Linked DNA regions of Homo sapiens: region 1 is linked to region 2. The links are contacts of gene promoters, found by promoter capture Hi-C in blood cells and fetal thymus (Javierre and others, 2016). All regions are on one chromosome and are shown on one strand. The core of a region is centred on a gene start or on the middle of the fragment in contact, and the rest is flanking DNA. Distances in the headings are between cores, read along the strand shown. Region 1 overlaps PMS1 (PMS1 homolog 1, mismatch repair system component). Region 2 holds the start of MSTN (myostatin).

Region 1 (5,450 bases), core at 127-2,626, 250 kb before region 2:
AAGGTTCAACTCAGATAAACTCCTAGTTAGATTGAAGAGATATATTCTTCACTCTACTCTTGGCAGGAAACAAAGCACTTTCTCTGGGAGAAAATATTTTCTTCTTTAGTATCCTTTTATATTCAATGTTTAGCAAAAATAAAAATTTTGAGAGACTTGAGGAGAGGAAAATGGGATCCGTAATCAAGAGAAACAATAGTGTAAATAAACTCATCAATAACCCAGATGTTTGAATTAACAGACAAAAAAAAAAAAACTTATGTTAAAGAATTTAGAAGAAAAGATGGTCAAAACTGGTAAGAAGGTAGCAAATTTCAGCAGAGAAATGGAAACTAAAAAACTAAATGAAAATTCTAGAACAAAAAGTACTATGAAGAATTAATTGGTTGGACTTATTGGAGTCAGGTCAGTAAAAATAATATGCAAACAGAAGCACGGAAGTAGAATGAGAAAAGAGCATCAGAGACCTGTGGGGCAACATTAAATGGTCTAACATGCCTGTGACTGGAATCTCAGGAGAGAGAATGGGGCAGAACAAAATCTGAAAAAAAAAAAAAAAAAGTCTGAGGGCTGGGCACGGTGGCTCACACCTGTAATCCTAGCACTTTGGGAGGCCAAGGTGGGCAGATCACTTGAAGTCAGGAGTTTAAGACCAGCCTGGCCAAAATGGTTAAACCCCATCTCTACCAAAAATACAAAAATTACCCAATTTTTTTGTGTTTTGGCGCATGCCTGTAATCCTGGCTACTTAGGTGGCTGAGGCAGGAGAATCTCTTGAACCCAGGAATTAGAGGTTGCAGGGAGCCAAGATTGTGCCATACACTCTAGCCTGGGCAACAGAGTGAGACTCTTGTCTTCAACAACAAAAAAAACTAATAACATAATTAAGATTGAAAAAAGAAAATGTCTGAGAATGTTTCAAGATTTTTGAAAAGATACAAAGCCACATACCAAAGAGTGAACAGAACCAAGTGGAAAAAAAATAAACAGAACCACAGCTAACTACATCATAATTGAATTACCGAAAACCAGTAATGTGTTGGACAGGAGTGTTGTTAAGGCAGTGTATTATACTTTAATTGGAAGTGTTTTTTCTTTTTTAGAGATTCATAAAAGTGTGGCGCTATTTACAGCTTTCATGAAATATTAAAAGCAGCCAGAGGAGAAAATACATTGAATTCAGAGGAACAATAAAAATAATGACAGCTGACTTCCCATTGGAAACATAGAAGTCCAAAGAAAATGGAATGACATCTTTTAAGTTTTTAAATTTAAAATTACAGGCGGGTGCGGTGGCTCACGCCTGTAATCCCAGCACTTTGGGAGACCGAGGCAGGTGGATCATCTGAGGTCAGGAGTTCAAGACCAGCCTGGCCAACATGGCGAAACCCTGTTTCTACTAAAAATACGAAAATTATCTGGGTGTGGTGGTGCATACCTGTAATCCCAGCTACTCGGGAGGGTGAGGCAGGAGAATTGCTTGAACCCAGGAGGCGGAGGTTGCAGTTAGCCGAGATCACGCCACTGTACTCCAGCCTGGGTGACAGAATTAGACTCTCAAATGAAACAAAACAAAAAGACAAACAAAATTTGATTTAGACTTCTATAACCAGTAAAAATGTTTAAAGAATGAGTACAAAGTGAAGGCAATTTCATACAAATAAAACAGAGAATCTCCCACCATGCACTACAAGAAATACTAACAGGGTTTTTAAGCTGAAGGAAAATGATTCTACATGGCAACCTGAATCTGCAAGAAGGAAAGAAAAGCACTAGAAAATGTGTGGAAAAAATGGAAAGACGAGTATTTTAAAAACTTATTTTACAAAAACAAAATCAGTATATTGTGGAGTTTATCACACAGAAAAGTAAAACGCATGACAAAAACTTTACAAAAGGTAAGAGTAAATGAGGTACACTATTACAAAGTTGTTACATTGTGAAATATAATTTATTTCATGGTAATCAAGGTAAACTGATAATTTAAGAATATATGTTATACTCACTGAAAGTAATACAAAGTTATATAGCTAAAAAGCCAATTAAAGCATATAAAATGGAGTACTGAGAATGACATGACAGAATTCAGTGTAAGGATTTTGGAGTAGTAGAAGCAGGAGGTTTAGCTTAGAAAGTGGTAGCGTAGGTGTTAGATTATGAAGGGCCTTTTATATCATACCAGGTAGTTTGTACCTTACCATTATGAGCCACTGGAATTTATTTTAGGCAGACGATTGATATCATGTTATTTACAAAATTAACTAGTAGGATTAATATGTTATTTACAAGATTAACTGGTAATTTCTACTATAAATTTTGTCTTACTGTAAGATACTGTCTTCAACTACTAGGGTTTGAGGGGAGGGAAAGGACTTGACATAAATTGGAGAGACTCCTAGGATAGAATAGATAGACCTATAAGACTTATGCAATATTGCAGTAAGAAGTAGAGGGAAGAATCAATTCTTTCTGTAGTATCTGCCTTTGGAAACCATTGGATGTTGGTGTTATATGAGAAAGGAAGGTTAGGTGTAGTATCAAACCCAAGGAAGAAGATAATGAGTTCCAGCCTGAGTGTGGTCGATTTCATATACCTTGAGGATAGCCAGGTGGAGTTAATGAGTGAGCATCTGTCTATAAAACTTAAAAGAGTAGTGTAGGTCTCAGATATGTGTCTTAGTTAACCAATTCTAAGATGCACATTTTGTCACACTTGACGTCCCTGGAAACAGATTGTGGCTTATAATTAATGGCCTCCCAAAATCCTTTTTGGAAAAGCAGCAGTTTTGGATGTTCTTATTGTTGTATCAATTGAATTTTGTGCAATATTAATAATTCATGTGTTGATTGGAGGAATAAACAACTTCATATTTTATTGCAACAATTGCTTTATGAGAGTTAAAAAGGGAAATAGTCACAACTAAATGAAGCTGCATTAAGTGCCAAAGGATTGCTGTCATATGCAAAGCATTGAAATTGATGGCACCAGAAGAAATTGCCATATTCATGGGAGTAAAGAAATTTCAAAGGAATGAGAGGCTGATGTGTCCATTTCATGTGTTACACGGGACTGTTGTTAAGGCAGTGTATCATAGTTTAATTGGAAGTGTTTTTTTCTTTTTTAGAGATTTATAAAAGTATGGTGCTGCTTACAACTTCCATGAAAAGAATCATTGGCATATAGGTAGTAGTTGAAGACATGGGAATGGAGGAAACATCTAGGGGAACAAAGAATGAAGTGAGGTCTCTGTGAATAGGATCTGGTATAGATTCTGGTGTGTGTGTATTTTCCATTTAGCAGTAGAGGCAGAATGCATACCTGCTCTGACTGCTAAATGCATGCATTTCTTGATCTCCATCAGCTTTTGCTCCAAAATTTGGCAGTGACCTTTTTACTTTCCTAAGCCAAAGAATAGTAGCGCCAAAGAATAGTAGCACCAAAGTGTTACTAGTGAGAACTATGTGTTCTCACCATGTTAGAACATGGTGTTCCAAGGAATTTAATCCTGCCTCTGGAAGTGATGTATGCAGGTAAGCCAAGGAAATGCTCTATATAAAAATAGAGGAAGACCCCCCCCCAAAAAAAAATCATTAGTAATGTTATATGCTAATGAGGCACCAGATCAAGAAAAAAGCAGAAAAACATCAAGTGTGAGCAAAATAGGAATATTGCACTTCCTTTAGTCTTTTTCCACAAAAATCTTTTCCCCCCAATCTTCTTTTATTTTTCTCTTATAGTAAATTTCCTTTCAAAAATTGCAAGTACTATGTGTCTTCCATAAATAAATAATTCAGACAAATACAAACTTTATTACTTTCTCTTATTTTCTTTAAGTATTCATTTAAGACTTTTTTGTTAAATGCCTACAGATTATTCATTGTTGTTTAAGGTGCTAGGGATATAATGGCAAACATGGTAGTTCTTTGCTCTCATACTTGTATTCTAAGAGGCGAGGCAGACAAAAGTTTTTTCAAGTAGTGACATTTTCTAAAAAGAAAGAAAACATAGTTCCACTGTAGAAGCAGCAGCCTTGGATAGGGCATTTAAGGATGGATTTTCAAAACATACGATACTCTGGGCCAGGCGCTGTGGCTGACGCCTGTAATCCCAGCACTTTGGGAGGCCAAGGTGGGCAGATCACGAGGTCAGGAGATCGAGACCATCCTGGCTAACATGGTGAAACCCCGTCTCTACCAAAAAAATACAAAAAATTAGCCAGGCGGGCTGGCAGGTTCCTGTAGTCCCAGCTACTCAGGAATCTGAAGCAGGAGAATGGCATGAACCTAGGAGGCGGAGCTTGCAGTGAGCCGAGATCATGCCACTGCACTCCAGCCTGGGCAACAGAGAGACTCCATCTCAAAAAAAAAAAAAAAAAAGATATGATACTCAAGCTGAGATCTGAAAGAGTTAGCTGTGGAAAGGTTGACAGAAGAACATGTACAAAGGGTCTGAGGTGGAAACAATTCTGATGTCCTCTAGGAACAGAAGGAAGGACATCGGTAGGAGAGAAGATAGCCATGGAACAGGTTGTGTAGGACAGTGTAAGCTTTAATTCCCACCCCTTTTCTCCAGTTAACCAGTGTTACTGATATGGTTTGGCTCTGTGTCCCCACCCAAATCTCATCTCGAATTGTAATCTCCATGTGTTGAGGGAGGGACCCGTAATCCCTATGTGTTTAGAGAAGGTGGTGATTGGCTCATGAGGGCAGTTTCTCCCATGCTGTTCTCATGATAGTGAGTTCTCACGAGATCCAATGGTTTTTATAAGTATTTGACAGTTCCTCCTTCATACACTCACACTCTCTCATGCCGCCTTGTGAAGAAGGTGCCTGCTTCCCCTTCCGCCATGAATGTGAATTTCCTGAGGCCTCCCAGCCATGTGGAACTGTGAGTCAATTAAACCTCCTTTGTTTACAGATTACCTATTCCAGGGTAATATCTTTATAGCAGTGTGAGAAGGAACGGACTAATACAGTTACTGATAACAGTTTGTAACATTGAGTTACAAGCTACTGTTAGGCCTTCTCAGACTTACATTATATCTCATGAATCTTTATTTAAGTTATGTTGCAAAGCCCACCCACATTAGCATCTTCTGTTTACAGTCAAACTTTTAAGATGCTTTGCACACCACATTTATTTTCTCATCTTGTTGTCACAAAATGTCTTTTTTTCCCCCCTTAGAAACAGGGTTTTGTTCTGTCACCCGGGCTTGAGTGCAGTGGCACAGTCATAGCTCACTGCAGCCTTGAACTCCTGGGCTCAAGGGATCCTCTCACAGCCTCCCAAGTAGCTAGGACTATAGGCATATACTACCATGCCAGACTAATTTTTTATTTTTAAAGACAGGGTCTCACTGTGTTGCCCAGTCTGGTCTCTACTTCCTGGGCTCAAGCCATCCTACTGCCTAAGGCTCCCAAGTAGTTGGGATTATAGGTGCAACCACCAC
Region 2 (5,584 bases), core at 723-3,222:
CAAGAGACACTGTGGAGGAACAACCACTTAGAATTCTTTGGGAATCTGAGTAGTTACACTTACTGAGCAGCTGTACCAATCAGTCTGGAAGAAGGAACCCTTCCCCCAGGCCTGAATTACCTGGGGACAAGACACACTGAGCAACTTACTGAGCCTCAGGAATTAGTAGAAAACACAGTACATCTGTTACATTTTGGCTTTGGAATAACCTTTTAAAGGAGCAAAACTAAGCAGATAATTAACACAAAAATTTTGATGTTATATTCAGGCTATCTGAAAAGTTCGAAAGTATTGTCTTTAGGGCCAGGCTGTCATGTAAGCACAAGCACTAACAATTTCTTTTATTTTGGTTTTCCAAAATTGTCTATAAAAGGTAAATCTGCTCCAGACCTATTTGATAGCAGAGTCTTAAATGGAAATTCTTTGCTGCATTGTAACCTGATTACTTAATAAGGGAAATAATATTTTAAAACTGTTTGGAGTCTTGTTTAAAGTATATAAAGCATTGTATTAAAGCAAGATAACAGGTAACACAAAATTTTTCTTGCCATGCCTTCTCTGTCAAGGTGCCTGTTTCTCTTTCCTGGAGAAAGTATTCTTTTGAGCTGACTGCAAAAGGAATTGTATGAAATATGTTATCTGTCAGAAGCAGTGTAGATACTACAGGTAAAAGCCCTCCCTCTCAGGAAGAATAAAATATTTTAGAAGGTTATTAAGCACTGTGCCTGCTTGGAAGTACACAAACTGGGTACTCTCAATAATAGTACTATGGTCAAGGTACAAGGAGGACTTTGTGAGCCATAACCTACCCAATTAAAATGTTTATTTCTTAGGCATTTTCTAATATTTAGTTCATGATGATTATTATGCTATGTTTACTTCATTATTGTTCTTACTAACACATTAAGATATTTAATTTTTGCATATTCTTCAGTGTAATAGCTCTCAAAATTAAATTTTTAACTGTGAAGAACAAAAAAATTACTGAGAGAGTTTCAAATAACAGAAATCACTTGAGGTTTTCAGCAGTGCTCAAGTAAGCTTAAACATCCAGCAAGTTTCTTTTTTTTTTTCTGTTATTAGTGAAAAAAACTTATTTTACACAACTAAATACAATTCTAAAATCTAATGTAAGTTTTAAACACTGCTTGTAGTATCTCCCAGTCCTTGCCTTGGTGGTATTATTGTGAAAGCATAAGCATGCTATCTATATTTGCCTTATTAAATTAATGCTATGCAAGTACTTTATTTTTTAGTTTTTTGTCTCTATAAGAAAACAAATAATGCAGCAGATTTTTGTCTCATTAATATATTCTCATGCAATCTTGAAAAAGAGAAACTCTTTTCCTTTCTACTTACATACAGGCCAACAGCTTGTTTAAAAGAGCCTGAAAATAGATCTGTTTCTCATAAACACTAGAACAACAGTCAGCAGAACTGTTGATATACACTAATAGGACTACTTACACTCTGTAGGCATGGTAATGATTGTTTCCGTTGTAGCGTGATAATCGTCATCTTCCAAAGAGCCATCGCTGCTGTCATCCCTCTGGACATCATACTGATCAATCAGTTCCCGGAGTGGAGGAGCTTTGGGTAAAAGTTGTCTTATAACATCTTTGCTGATGTTAGGAGCTGTTTCCAGACGAAGTTTACTGAGGATTTGTATCTTAATGGCTTCTATTCTTGAAGATTTAGTGTTTTGTCTCCAAGTACATGCATTACACAGCCCCTCTTTTTCCACATTTTCTTTTTGCTCACTGTTCTCATTTAGATCCACTGGACCAGCAACAATCAGCATAAACAGGTAAATATAAACACAGAGTTGCAGTTTTTGCATGATTTTAAAATCAATATAATCTTTTTTCTTGTTCTTGTTTCTTCCTTTTACTTTTCTTTTGCTTTTGAGTAATGCCAAGCAAAATTTTAATGCATGTACAGTCTGAGAGACAACTTGCCACACCAGTGAATCTTTTATACTGTATTCCAAGTGGCTTTTTATATTCCAACTTAGATGAGACAAGTGTCGTCAGGATCTATGATTGGCTCTTGCTCCACAATGAATCTCGCTGTCAGAGGTTAAAACCCTGTCTGTCCCAAGTCACCAAGCAGTATTTTGTTACAGTCAAGGGTGAGCTGATTCATTTGACTACTTCATAAAAGAAATAAATCTACAAATAATAAAAGATATTTGTGACATTTGAAAAACAAAAGTCTATGTTGGCAATAATATAAACTGTACTTAAATCTTACTAATCCTCACACAACTCTTATTGTAATTTAAATAAGTCAATTTTAATTTATACTACATATTTAAAATATGAAATATTACTTCCTCAAAAACTAAAATGATTTTATATTGTTTAGGCAAGTATTTGAAGTAGAAAATATTTTTATTTGTTGTATTAAATTATTTTTAGTGCCAAGTAATTAGGAAAATAAAAATTAGGAAGACCTGAATTAAAAGTTAAGATTATGATACTAGTTGAGAATTTTCATCTATAATTTGAGAAACTTGTTTTCTGACTAAATTCTTAGTAAATATTGGAAGTCATTGTTATTATAACATATTGTGCATGGAATTATTTTTACATAGTTTCATGTCTTTTATTAATATGAAAATTATACTGAACTTTTGACTGAGTGCTATTATTTCCTATTCTAAAGATGCAGATTAACATAACTCAGAAGATGTGTTTTTCATTGTTTATTACCAAGAGGGTAATGCCAGCTAGTAGAAAAATCTCTGAACATAGACTAAGATAATGAATTTTATAACTGGCATGGCAGAGATTATTACAGTTTGCCTCAGATTTCCAGCAGTAAATATCCAGAGAGTAAAAAGTGCAGTATCTATTCTCTATAAATTATATCAGAATATTATGAGCACATAAAAGAGAAAGAGCATCATGATAAAGGGGTGACCTTTTGTTGTTTCCCAATACTGCGATATGTTTGCACCCCTTTGCCAATTTCTCATTTTGACCAGAGGGCAGACACCTGGCAGGGATTTGGGGTAAAGTCTGGGAGCAGAGAATAGAGCTTTTTGTTCTCTAAATTTAAGTGGCCTCTGTAGGGATCAAACGTTCAACCTTAGCTTTGGGAGCCACAAGATCTAGTCAAATGAACTATTAAAGAGCTAAGCAAACATAGCCAGCAAGAAACAGAAGATATTTCTAGGCCAAAGGAGATTTCTTTTTCCTACTCCTTTTTGGGAAGCTAAGGATTCCTAAGAGATTTAGTCCATTACTTTTTTTTTCCAAGAGAATACAGTGGCTCATATCAAATATTTATTTTTAAAGTCACTACCATTTTTGCACACTGTACACTAATTTACTGCCTCGGTGCACTAAAATGCAACTCAGTAGCCTGAAAAGTTAATGCATTTTCATCAAATTCTTAAGAGGTATCTACATCTCTTGAGAAAAAAATGGCCTTACATAATGCATTGGATTTGCTCATCATTAAAGATTAAGGAAAACCAGACACAAACCAGATGCCCTGAGGATTTCAGATACTCTTTGTTATGGGACAATATTAGATCTGGCTTCTAAGGTTTTATTTGTTTGGTAAATTCATTTTTCAATGTGTAAATCTTTCAAATGTTATGATCATTGTAACACATGCATCTATACAGTTCCAAGTAAGTCAAACTTTTTTTTTAATATGCTTAGAATTGTATAGCAGTTGAATTGAGAACTCAGGCTCTGGAGTCAGATAGACCTGAGTTCAAATCTCAACTTTGCCACTTCTAACTATGTGATAATGGATGAGATACTTAACTTCCCTAAACTTTAGCTTCCTCATAGGGTTTTGGGGGGATATAATTTAATAATGCATGTAAATTGCTGAATATGGCACCTGTCATATAGTAAGTAATTGATAACTGGCATTTGAGTGCTTGCTCTTTGTTTTATGCAGAAGGGTTTGAGATTATGCTTAAAATTATGCTCCACATGAACTAGAACTGCTTCAGGTCATAGCTGCCAATTATCAGTCACAAAGCCTACTTTCTAGGCCTGTGAGGCAAGTAAAATTTTCTAAGGCAGCCAGGTTACAAGACATGTTCCAGCTCTTTATTCTTATCACCTGGAAAAAAGTGAACAAAGGTTGTCATTTCCGCTAACAGACAATTCTTATTATTCATGATTTCTGTATTCACAAATTTGCCTACTTGCTAAAATTTATCTATGAAACTCAATATTCCTAGCATTTTTCAGTCATTCGCTGGCATTCACAGAGCGGCAAAAAATTTGAGTCCTATCTGACGCACAGGTTCCCAGATGAGGTCAAACAAGGCAGGGTTCCGCCTTTTTGTTTCAGCTCTCATACTATAAACAAATTCCCTTTTTCCCGTCTATTTAGTGCCATGTTTTCACATATTTTGTGCTTCTTTTTTTATTGCTCCTCTTATTGATTTTGCTTTTTAAAAATGGCCCCCAAGCATAGTGCTGACGTGCTGCGTGGTGTTCCTATGTTCCTAATCACAGGAAAGCTGCAATGGAAAGTAGCATGGTGGTTGCCAGGGACTGGGTGAGGCACTGAGGGGTAGTTACTGTGTGATAGATACAGAGTTTCAGTCTGGGAAGATGAAAAATTTCTGAAGATGAATGGTGGTGATGGTTACACAACAGTGTGAATGTGCTTAATGCCACCGAACTGTACACCTAAAAATGGTTAAGATGCTAAATGTTGTGTATATTTACCACAATTTTAAAAGGCTGTGATATGCCTAAGGGAAAAAAGTTCTCATGAAAAAATGCATGTGCTAGATAAGCATCATTCAGGCCTGAGTTATAGTGCTGCTGGCTGTGAGTTCAGTGTTAATGAATGAACAATATATATTAAATAATGTATTTGTAAACAAAAACATACATAAAACAAGGTTATATATTGATTGGGTGATGTAAATGTTATGACCAGAGGCTCAACTAACCCTGTTTTTCCCCTGGGAACAATAGTTCAATATTTGCTAACTCAGTGTTGGCAATGACTTTATAGAACATAACTACTATGAATAGGGAGAATTGACTATATCTAATCAACTTCTCTAGAGAACAGTATTGAATGGGTGAAGAAGAACTGAAGAAATTTAAGTAAGTTTTATTCCTTCTCCAGTGGCAGTGATTGCAACCTTCCTGAGGCCCCAGAATAGAAGGGCTCACCAGCTATAGGAAACTTCAATGTAGTCTGACTGCTGGAGACCCAGTTCTGGCAGTTCTTATCACCAAGGAGACAGGACAGTACTGCATCATTAGGGTGAGTGGGTAGAGAAGAATTCCTCCTAGTTAACTGGGAGAGCTGCGTCTATCAGCTTGTTGGTTTTGTCTTAAGTTAGCCATCTCTAAAAGCAGCTTCTCACAGGAGTCAGAATTTAGGTAGTTAAGGCAGTATCTCACAAGACTGGTATGGTTCGTCTTTGTACTAGGTAGACTGTTGTGGGCCTCACATTTTCTGTAACCGTCAGTAAGGTGGCAAGCGAAACTCTCTCATCTCTGTTACAAATACTCACTGGTTGTCTCAAAACAATGTTGAGGGTATAAACAATATTTTCCAAAAAAAAATTACGGTTTTATTTTTCCAG

The links. Contacts are between HindIII fragments. The CHiCAGO score rates a contact against its expected background, and 5 or more counts as called.
Region 1: a contact is called between a fragment that was not itself captured here and the fragment with the promoter of MSTN in region 2, in 5 of 17 cell types (M1 macrophages, naive B cells, total B cells and 2 more). The highest score is 7.5, in M1 macrophages.

What each region holds. Positions count from the first base shown.
Region 1 is chr2:189,810,738-189,816,187 of GRCh38, forward strand. The region is part of intron 4 of PMS1 (PMS1 homolog 1, mismatch repair system component); the gene reads left to right. Among named protein-coding and RNA genes, the nearest start is that of PMS1, 29 kb to the left of the region's middle. The HindIII fragment of the contact is 6,338 bases long and covers 1-4,545 here.
Region 2 is chr2:190,060,757-190,066,340 of GRCh38, forward strand. It overlaps MSTN (myostatin), which reads right to left and starts at 1,973. Exons shown (of 3, transcript NM_005259.3): 1 at 1,468-1,973. The coding sequence starts at 1,840. It also overlaps a transcript of AKAP19 not described here. The HindIII fragment of the contact is 9,340 bases long and covers 1,040-5,584 here.